Linked DNA regions of Homo sapiens: all the other regions are linked to region 3. Evidence: promoter capture Hi-C in 16 types of primary human blood cells and fetal thymus (Javierre and others, 2016). All regions are on one chromosome and are shown on one strand. The core of a region is centred on a gene start or on the middle of the fragment in contact, and the rest is flanking DNA. Distances in the headings are between cores, read along the strand shown.

What was found. Contacts are between HindIII fragments. The CHiCAGO score rates a contact against its expected background, and 5 or more counts as called.
Region 1: a fragment that was not itself captured here is called in contact with the fragment with the promoter of CD200 in region 3 in 1 of 17 cell types (activated CD4 T cells); the score reaches 7.6 in activated CD4 T cells.
Region 2: a fragment that was not itself captured here is called in contact with the fragment with the promoter of CD200 in region 3 in 1 of 17 cell types (activated CD4 T cells); the score reaches 5.8 in activated CD4 T cells.

The regions. Positions count from the first base shown.
Region 1 is chr3:113,002,239-113,005,337 of GRCh38, forward strand. It overlaps RMP64 (ribonuclease MRP subunit p64), which reads right to left. Exons shown (of 9, transcript NM_015412.4): 9 at 206-3,099. Among named protein-coding and RNA genes, the nearest start is that of GTPBP8, 13 kb to the left of the region's middle. The HindIII fragment of the contact is 1,036 bases long and covers 1,306-2,341 here.
Region 2 is chr3:112,986,429-112,989,629 of GRCh38, forward strand. No RefSeq gene overlaps it. Among named protein-coding and RNA genes, the nearest start is that of GTPBP8, 3.0 kb to the right of the region's middle. The HindIII fragment of the contact is 2,477 bases long and covers 380-2,856 here.
Region 3 is chr3:112,331,824-112,335,112 of GRCh38, forward strand. It overlaps CD200 (CD200 molecule), which reads left to right and starts at 1,333. Exons shown (of 6, transcript NM_005944.7): 1 at 1,333-1,401. The coding sequence starts at 1,390. It overlaps LOC105374042 (a long non-coding RNA gene), which reads left to right. Exons shown (of 5, transcript NR_147411.1): 5 at 363-931. RefSeq lists enhancers at 1,000-1,957, 1,958-2,914. The HindIII fragment of the contact is 4,002 bases long and covers 258-3,289 here.

The DNA of each region.
Region 1 (3,099 bases), core at 574-3,073, 670 kb after region 3:
GAACAGTGGCAAAATGAAACAAGACAGACAAGCCTATTAACAACATATTCATTGAGTTAGCCAAAACATAGGCACTAGTGCTAGATCTTGAGGGAACTTGTGACAAGTCCTAGGAAATATGTGTTGTATAGTGACCAGGTCTATGCAACCTACCCCCAAAGGCTGAGAGTGCTGAGATGCCAAAGAAAGAGGCCAACAAATCCAGTTTGTCAGAAAGAAACATTTAATAGGGACTTATGCACAGAAGCCATGTCTCAGGCAGTGATCCCCACAGTTACCCCCCGACCCAGGGCTTATATGCCATAGAGAAAAGGGGGTACATGAAGGAACATGTGAGACACTGAAGTCACCTCCTCAGGGAAAGGCAAGAATGCTGTTTACAACTTAGCCTATAACTTGCTTAAGGCCAGGATTTACAGTGTGTGTGTGTGTGTGTGTTCTTTTAATAGATAAAAGTAGAAATCTTAGAGGGCATTCCAGGAACTGGTTATCAGAAGTCAACATGGTAGATTAGCATCCAAGATGGAAGTTACTTTAGCCTCATACTGTGCCTGTGAATTTCTTTGAGGAGGGGATGGGGTGGCCCCACACCTCTTCCAGGTTGTACATACCCAAGTGCTAGGCAGTTCCTGTAGCTGGTGAGAAGCCCAGGGGCAGGAAGTGAGACATCCCCAGAGCAAGAGGCAAGGTTCAGCCCTGCTTGAAACTGGTTGCCACAGCAGTGACTTTAGTATGAAGGCCAAGAGGATTGGAAGTGACACACAGGAGGTCTCAAACACTGCTCTTATAAATGGCCTGTGTGTCCTAATGCCATCAGAAGTGATAAAGTTGGTACTAGGATGTGGGTAATCCCAGCACTTTGGGAGACCAAAGTGGGTGGATCCCTTGAGTCCAGGAGTTTGAGACCAGCCTAAGCAACATGGTGAAACCCTATCTCTACACAAAGTTTTTAAAAAATTAGCCAGGGCATGGTGGTGCCTATAGTGTCAGCTACTCAGGCGGCTGAGGTGGGAGAATAGCTTGAGCCCAGGAGGTGGAGGGTGCAGTGAACTGAGATCATACCACTGTGCTCCAGCCTGGGCAACAGCACAAGACTCTGTCTCAAAAAATAATAATAATAATAATTCACTACGATGACCCTGACAATAGTTTCTAATCTCATTTACTAGGTAAGTTACAGTTTGGTATACTTTAGATTGCATTTTTTTAAATGTTAAATATTTGGATTTATTTGGAAAAAGTAACTGATACAGAATACTGAATTCCTTATAAACATACAAATTGTCATTTTGTGGACACATGTGAAGCTTTTTTGCCATTTTCCCAGAATAGTAAAGGGCAGAAGATGGGAAAATGAGAGGAGATGAAGATACTCCAAAAGAACATGAATGAATTTGGAAACAAATGCTAGACTGGCAGCCCAGTCCATGCTATATTGTCCTTAACTCACTGAACCACCCTGGTTTTTCCAATGAAAGATAAGCTCCAAAGTTTATTTCAGCTATAAAAGTTTCATTCTTGAAAAAATTCCACTTCAAATCCAGAAACCTAAGCCTGAGGAAACTGACTAGCTCAGTGAAGCCACAAGTAGGAGAAGCAAGACTGAACCTTAAATCTCCTAATTCCCAGGGAGTTTTTTTCTGAATCAGCTAAATGAAGTATTAAAAGAGGCTACTTAGGGGACTGGGTGCATGAATATAGACAACTCTCAGCAAATAAGCCCTATGGTCCACAAAGCTATACACCAGTTCTCTTACTAATTTACCTTCTATTTCCCAATAGGTAAAGGATATTCATTGAACACAAGGACACTTAGAAGTTAATGGCCATTTCTAGACTTGTCTAGAATGAAATCTCCTTGGTATTGTCTGTATTTTAAGGCACTAAATGGATACTACCACTTGGTAGAAAGCCAAAAGGAATATGAAAACTGACTACAGATTAAGAATTAAACCAGTTTACTTAAGGCTTCAGGAGAGAAGCTAAAGTAGTGTTTATATAACTGGATTTGGGGGCCACCTGGATCAAAATCACTTGGGCTCCATGTTAAAAATGCAGGTTTCTGGCCCCTGTTTATCAGTCTCTGGGAAAGGGCTAATCTGCATCTTTTAGCAACCCACCAGGTGATTCTCAAAAAGTCTAAAGTTTGAGAACCACTGGTAGAGATAACTGAGAAAATGGAGAAGGCAGACAGGGAAAGAACAAAGCCAAATAAAGAATGGAAGGGAAATAACTTCTGTTATGATAGGGTGGCTGAGGAAAAGAAGGATGCGGTACATACTAAGGTACTACTTTCTTTTTCTTTAAATCTCTATGTAACAAAAGTTAAGGGCACTAGAGAAGCTTAATAACCTAATTCTAGTAAAGTTAGAACATTGGAAAGATACCTACCTCAAACTTCACATCATTATTTGAAAATACTCAAGATGTACTCCCCTCAGAGCAACAGTACGAGCAACATCCCCTATCAGATGACAGCATCAACACCAAATTATAAATGTTCTAGCCTCATTCCTGGGTCTACTTTGTATCTCCTAACCTCATTTTTTCATTTTACTTTCTCATCTACCTGTTATCCTATTATATTTCATATGTAACCATAAACCACCTTATTGCCTTTTTGTAAAAAGGTTTATTTGGAATCAATCACTGGTACCCAAATAAATAAAATTAAAACGTTTTGGAGAACTCCAAACTCACTTTAATATGAGATAAGCCAAGCAAATGAAGAGAAATAATGGTTGTAACCAGTCCCTGGTAATACAAGCAGTGGCAAACCTTGTTGATCAATTCCAACATATAAACAAGAAAACATAAATGTCAGGAGCTACAAACTTTAGTATTCAGAGGCGGACCTATGTATAATGGAGCCAATAAGACCAAATTGACCTTTCAGGTGTTTCCTTGCTATCTCCCACCCCCGCTCCTCATTTACCTCAAGACACAATGGTTTTTGCAAACGATTATTAAATTGCCTAGTAAGTCATAAAATTATTCAGTTTTTCAGAGACTTACTAGCCTCACTCAAGGAATTACATCTGCTTCTCAAGGGTAGGCTGTGGCAGATTTTTCATATTAACACCTGACATGTAGTTGAAG
Region 2 (3,201 bases), core at 368-2,867, 650 kb after region 3:
CATCTTCCTTTCTCCCAATATTTTCTTCCTAATACAAGAGTTTGATATCCTAATTGGAATGTAACCAGGTCTTTCTCATAGTTTATCAGTACTCAGATAAATTCCTGGCATAGCAGACACCCAATAAATGTTCATTATTGTTGTTAAGACAAGCAGAAAAGTCAGGGTAAGAAAGGTCTAGTGGAAATCAGACACTGAGACCTAATCCATTCCCTCTCTCTATTTCTAGAAGTAAGTTTTGCTAGAGTCCCTGCTCTTGCTTCTGTCAGGACATTCAAACCATGTTTAACTTAGGATGGGAGTTATCTGATGTTCCCAGTGCCCCTACCTATCTAGGCCTACAAAGTTTACCTTCTTCATGTCTTAGATGGATTCCATAAGCTTGAAACCTATAGGACCTGGACATAAATTGGGATCACTCTGGACCTAATGGCCATTCACTATAGAGGCAGACATCGCAGTAAGAACAATTGAGAGGATCCTGTCCTACCTATCTTCCTTCTATTCTTAGCTGAGCATGACAGAGTATAACTATGACATTTAGGGCAGATGAATTTTAGCAATAAAAGCTGATTCTGGGGATGATGTATAAAGTAACGCCTGTCAAAGTCATATTAAATTTTTAAAACCTTGTTAACTTTGTGGTAAACTACCTCCTCGTTATCAAAACAGAAGGCACTTTTTCTCAGAAGGTTGGCCATAAATACATCCTAAGTCAAACTGGGAATAAGCCATGTGATTATCTGGGGTAAGCATTCCAGGGAGAAGTACAAGGACACAGAGGCAGGTGTGTGTATATGGCTTGCTTGAAAAACAGCAAGGAAGCCAGTGTGGCTGGAATGGAGTAGAAAAGGGGAAAAATAACAATAGATGAAGTCAGACAAGAGTGGAAGAAGAAAATGAAAGTTCATGTAGGGCTTTTTAGGTTAGTGCAAGAACTTTTTCTATGAGTGAGACAGGAAGCTCTTGGAGGTTTAGCTTATGTTTTAACAGGATCATGGTTGCTGCCACTGAAATGGGAAAAGTACTCTTGTCCCGCTCGAAGGGCATGTGACAAGGAATGGCTCGCTTCTTCAGGGCCCCACTGCTCAAACCTCTAGGGGAGCATACAGACAGGCAGGTTGTGGGGCTCCGACCCCACGGCAGCATCTAGGGGTGGATGTTTACAGCTCCTGAAGCCTCAGTGGGCATCTGCTACCGTGTGCGCTTTTAGTTTTGTCATCTATAGGCAGCTTGTGTTAACCAGCTAATTAGACCGTCTACCTTGTCACAAGGACAAAGAGTTTTCTATATCCTGGGTTCTTGCCTTGGTGTACTGGAAGAATCGGATCACACATGGGCTTGGAGAATGAGTGCATGGTTTTGACTGGAAGTAGCTCACAGCAGATAGGGGAGCCAGAAGGGAGATGGTTTTCCCCAGGAGTTCAGCCACTCAGCAGCCCTCCAACCGCCCCGGCCAAACTCTGCATCATTCTACTGGTCAATGGCCTGCTGGTGGGCAGCTTGCTCCCCTCGACGTCCTCTTGACATCCAGCAGCTCGTGTCTTCTTCCACCAAGGTGTTCCTCTCAAGGTCCAACCACTTGTGTGTCTGCCTGCTAGGTGTCGGGGTTTTTATAGGCACAGGATGGGGGTGTGGCAGACCTGGGTGGCTTTGGGAAATGCAACATTTGGGCACAAAGCCAGAAGTGCCTGTCCTCACCTAGGTCCGTGGGCACAGGCCGGGGGTGGAGCTCTAGCCAGGGACCTGCCCTTCTCCTCACAATTCCCTGCCCCACTTCCCTGCCCCACTTCCCTATCACCATGTTGCAAATATACTGAAGGGGGCAAAGGGCAAAGGTGGGTGATCAATTTGAAAGCTACTGCAATAATCTAGGTGGGAGATAATGGTGGCTTGTATCAGGGTGGTGGCAGTGGATGTGCTAAAAAGTATCCAATTCAGGATATGTTTTCAAGGTAAAGCCAAGGGGATTGCTAACAACTTGGACTTGGGGTAACAGAAAAAGGAGTCCAGAATTTTCTCCCAAGATTTTCAGCTAAGTCAATTGGAGGAATGGAGGTGCCATTGTCTCTTACAGATTAGGAGACAATTAAAGGATATTAGAAATTCTGTTTTGGACCTAGGAAATGGGAGGCGCATATTAGACAGCAAGATTTTCTAATCTACAGTCCTTCTTTTCCCTACTTGGACTAAAACCCTATTCTGAATCTTAGCCCTGACCTAGTCCTGATCTAGCAGGCTAGATCCTGACTCCCAATCTACACTTATTGGCTAAGCTCCTACTCCACACACAAAAAGACCACCTCGAACCAAGATGCTGCCAACAACAACAGATTCACAGTACTATTGCCAGAACCCAGAAAGTCCTGTCACAACATCCTATCCACCAGACTTGATTCCCTTCAATACTAATTTTGTTTTTATTATTTTTTTAGGGACAGTCTCGTTTTGTTGCCCAGGCTCAAGCGATCCTCCTGCCTTGGCCTCCCAAAGTGCTAGGATTACAGGTGTGAGCCTCTTTTCCTGGGCTTTGATAATTCCCTGTAGACCAGATGATTTCCACTGCAGCCCTACAATGGGGTTATTATAAACTAATTCCTCCCAATTCTAGCCCTCACCTGTCTCACTAGTAGGTCTCACTGCTATGTATGTTTCATATTTGAACTTCTGCAAATTATGAGTTTAATCATGTTGAGGGAAAACATAGTGTATTATTAACTCTAAATCATCCTGAAGTTTTATATGCTTTGTTTACACAGATGCTTTTAAAAGATGAAGTGAAAGAGAAAAAAATATATAAATTGTCAAGTGGTTTTACTAGTCATACTTCTTTCCAGTAGACCGTTTGATCCTTCAAGCTTTGCATGACAAGACAATTTGTTGCAAAAACTGTCCTGTCAAATAATTCTAAAATGATTTGTCCTATCAGGTGAAATCCAAAATGATTTAGAATTCAGAAACATGAATGATTATTAAATGAATACTATAATGTCTATTAATCCCGGAACACCTCTAAAACCTTTCTAAGAATCGCCAAAACTCTTTTATGCTCTTATTTCCAAACCTGGGGTTCCAAGGTTTGAAAACAAAATGGCATGTATAAAAGCACTTTCAAAGTATATTACATACACAGCGTCAGGCCTCTGAGCCCAAGCTAAGCCATCATATCCCCAGTGACCTGCACGTATACATCCAGAAGGC
Region 3 (3,289 bases), core at 83-2,582:
CTGCTTTGGGAGGCAAAGGTAGAAGGAGCATTTGAGGCTAGGAATTTCAGGCCAGCCTGGGCAACACAAGACCCCGTGTCTGGAAAAAAAAAAAAAGCTGGACATAGTGGCTGCACAACTATCATTCTAGCTACTCTAGAGGCTGAGGTGAGAGGATCCCTTGAGCCCAGGAGTGAGTTATGATCGCACCACTGCATTCCAGCTTGGACAACAGAGCGAGACTTTGTCTGTAAAAAGAAGCAAAAACAAAACCCCAAAGCTTTGTCCCAGCTCCTTATGAGAGGGTGGTAGTAGTAAAACACAAAAGCCTTCAGGAGGTGAACACTTGATGATTTCTTTGTCCTTTTTTTTTTTTTTTTAAGAGCCAAGAACTCTGGAACAAGAAGAAGAAGACGAAGGAGGAGGAGGAGGGGGAGGGGGAGGAGGAGAAGGAGAAGGAGGAGAAGGAGAAGGAGAAGGAGACGGAGAAGGAGGAAGAGGAGGAGGAGGGCCGGGCGCAGTGGCTCACGCCTGTAATCCCAGCATTTTGGGAGGCCGAGGCGGGCGGATCACGAGGTCAAGAGACCGAGACCATCCTGGCTAACATGGTGAAACCCCGTCTCTACTAAAAATACAAAAAATTAGCCGGGCATGGTGGCGGGCGTCTGTAGTCCCAGCTACTCGGGAGGCTGAGGCAGGAGAATGGCGGGAACCCGGGAGGCGGAGCTTGTAGTGAGCCAAGATAGCGCCACTGCACTCCAGCCTGGACCACAGAGCGAGACTCCGTCTCAAGAAGAAGAAGAAGGAGAAGAAGGAGAAGGAGAAGGGAAAAAAGAATCCTCATCATTAATGCAAGTGGAAGGAAACTCTTCACCAAAGAATTGATCACATCATGAAAGGTGAAATCATTACGGAATTGCTTAAATATATAATTTGAATCTGGATTTAAAAATAATAAATGTAAGTTTTTTCTTTAAAAAAAAAAAAAAGTCCATTGGTTAAATTCAGCTTGAATCCTTTGCCACTACATCAAGAGCTAACAGGTCAACAACTGATCTCCACAACCTCCCACCTCATTTCCTTTCTCAGTCCAGGTAGCAGGAAAATGGAAAAAAAAAAATGATTTTTTTTTTCCAAACACTTTGTCAGTTTCCCCAGCGGTCACCTTTGAAAAGGGAAAAATGTCTGAAAATAGACAAAGCTGAATATAAACATCATTTAATTCCCCCCACACAGACAGCCTCCGCTCCTGTGAGGGCGTGGGGAAAACGGAGTGGGAGAAGGGGGCTAGCGAGGAGGAAGAGGCGGGAGGTGCGGCAGGGGCACAGGTGACGCTCCTCCCGCCTGCCTAGCAGAGCTCCAGGCGCACATCCGCAGTCAGCCACCTCGCGCGCGCCTCCAGGAGCAAGGATGGAGAGGCTGGTGAGCGGGGCCGGGGCTTGGGAAGGAGGGCGCAGGGCAGGCGATGTTGAGCCGGTGGCCCTGGGGCGGGCGGCGAGTGGAAGGCGCGGAGCTTCGGCTCTTGCCACAATCTGGTCCGGGGACTAGATCAGCGGTGTTGATGGCAGCGCTTTTCTCTAAGCGCTTTCTCTTGCTGAGAAACGGATTTTGCCTTCCAAAGGGTGGTTTACAGGCAGCTGCTGGCGTCCAGATTCTCCATTCCAATTGCCTGAAAAAAAGATGCACCAGGCCGGGGCTCCGGGGGCTCTTGATCCGCGCTGACGAAGCTGGCGCATCCTCCGGGCAGGCTCGGCTCGGCTCACTGGCTCCAGCTCCCAAAACTGGGGAGGCACAGCCTATTTTAAACTGCCCCCAAAAGGGAAAGAGAAATGCTGTATTGGTTCCATATTGGCACCAAAAGCTGCGGCGGAGATACAGATTTCCAGGCTCGCTTTCTCCGGGAGAGCTCCTGCGTCTCCTCTTTGTTATGCAGCCCCTTTCTCCCTCCTAGCCCTTGCCTGGGGGAAGCCATGAAGGATCAGTTAAAGCTGAAGCTACACTTGAGAGAGCTGAAATGCTCTGTGATCATAATGCTTTGAAGGGTTAACCCCGGGTATCTAGAGAAACAGACATTTTGTTTATTCGGAACCAGCTTACAAGACAAAAAACGGAGAAGGTTTTCATATATCCCATTGGTATATGAAATCCAAATACAATGGTATTGGTATAAGAATCCAAATACAGTGAATGCCTCAAGATAATTTTTTCATGTATGGTTTGTTGGCAAGACCACATAGCCAATGATTTCACTGTCTTTCTTAACAAAGGAGAATGGTGGTCTGTGAGCTACGGTCTACTGCAAGCTAGATGCTGTTAATCTTCTTTGTAACTATCCTTCTAAAAATGAATTATTACCTCGTTTTACACATAAACAGGCGGAAAGGCTGATATTTCCAAGTCCTTGTGACTACATGTGGGGTAATGTGGATTTGGACATAGAAACTTGCTGAGGAAGAGGCATGAATAGGGGCAATATAGCTACCAGGTGGGCAGCTGTCTGGTAAGACCCAGGTTTTTGTGAACCCTGGACTGCATGGCAAGGGTTATAAGTGGGCTTCTTTGTTTTCAGGACTGTAGTTCCCCCTATATGATTTGATCGATTAATTTTTTTAGCTACCTAACACGTATTGGCATTTACTATAACCTAGGCTCTATACTAAGTGCTTTAATTGCCTAATTCTCATAATAACTATGTGAGATAAGAGCAACATTTATTTAGTGCTTATTTCTACTGGCAGTATTCTAGGAGCTTTATATACTACTTCATTTAGTCTTTTTAACCATTAGATTGGTACTATTACTTTTCCGGAGTCTCAGAGAGGTAAAATGATTTCTTTTGCTCACAAATCTAGTATTTGTTTTAGCCCCGGTCACCTCCCTGTAAACATATAAATACTGTTGTTTTCAGATTGGTCGTATTTTCAGTTATTCTGCACAGACTCGAGGAAAAAAAAAACCTGTAAAATAAAAATACGTATCTATTTAAGAGTAAGGCTTTCCTTCTGATTTCCTTTGCCTCAATCACTGTGTTTTGTTTCTTAACATTGCTGGCTCCCAGTCCACAATATATGGTTTGGTATGTATCTGCTTTCTCTCTTGTCCTAAAACACAGATTTTCTCTATGAGAGCTTGTCCATTCTGCATTCTTCATCATGGCCTCTGGTAGAGCCTGGATTTCCACGTCAGAGAAGCCTAATGGTTTAAAAAATATCACATAGAATTGGAATGCCAGTATCTGTCTCCACAATTGCCTTAGCTGAAAATAAAACAAAATGTGTTGGGTGGGCACTGGCAATGGAGCCTGAGGAAA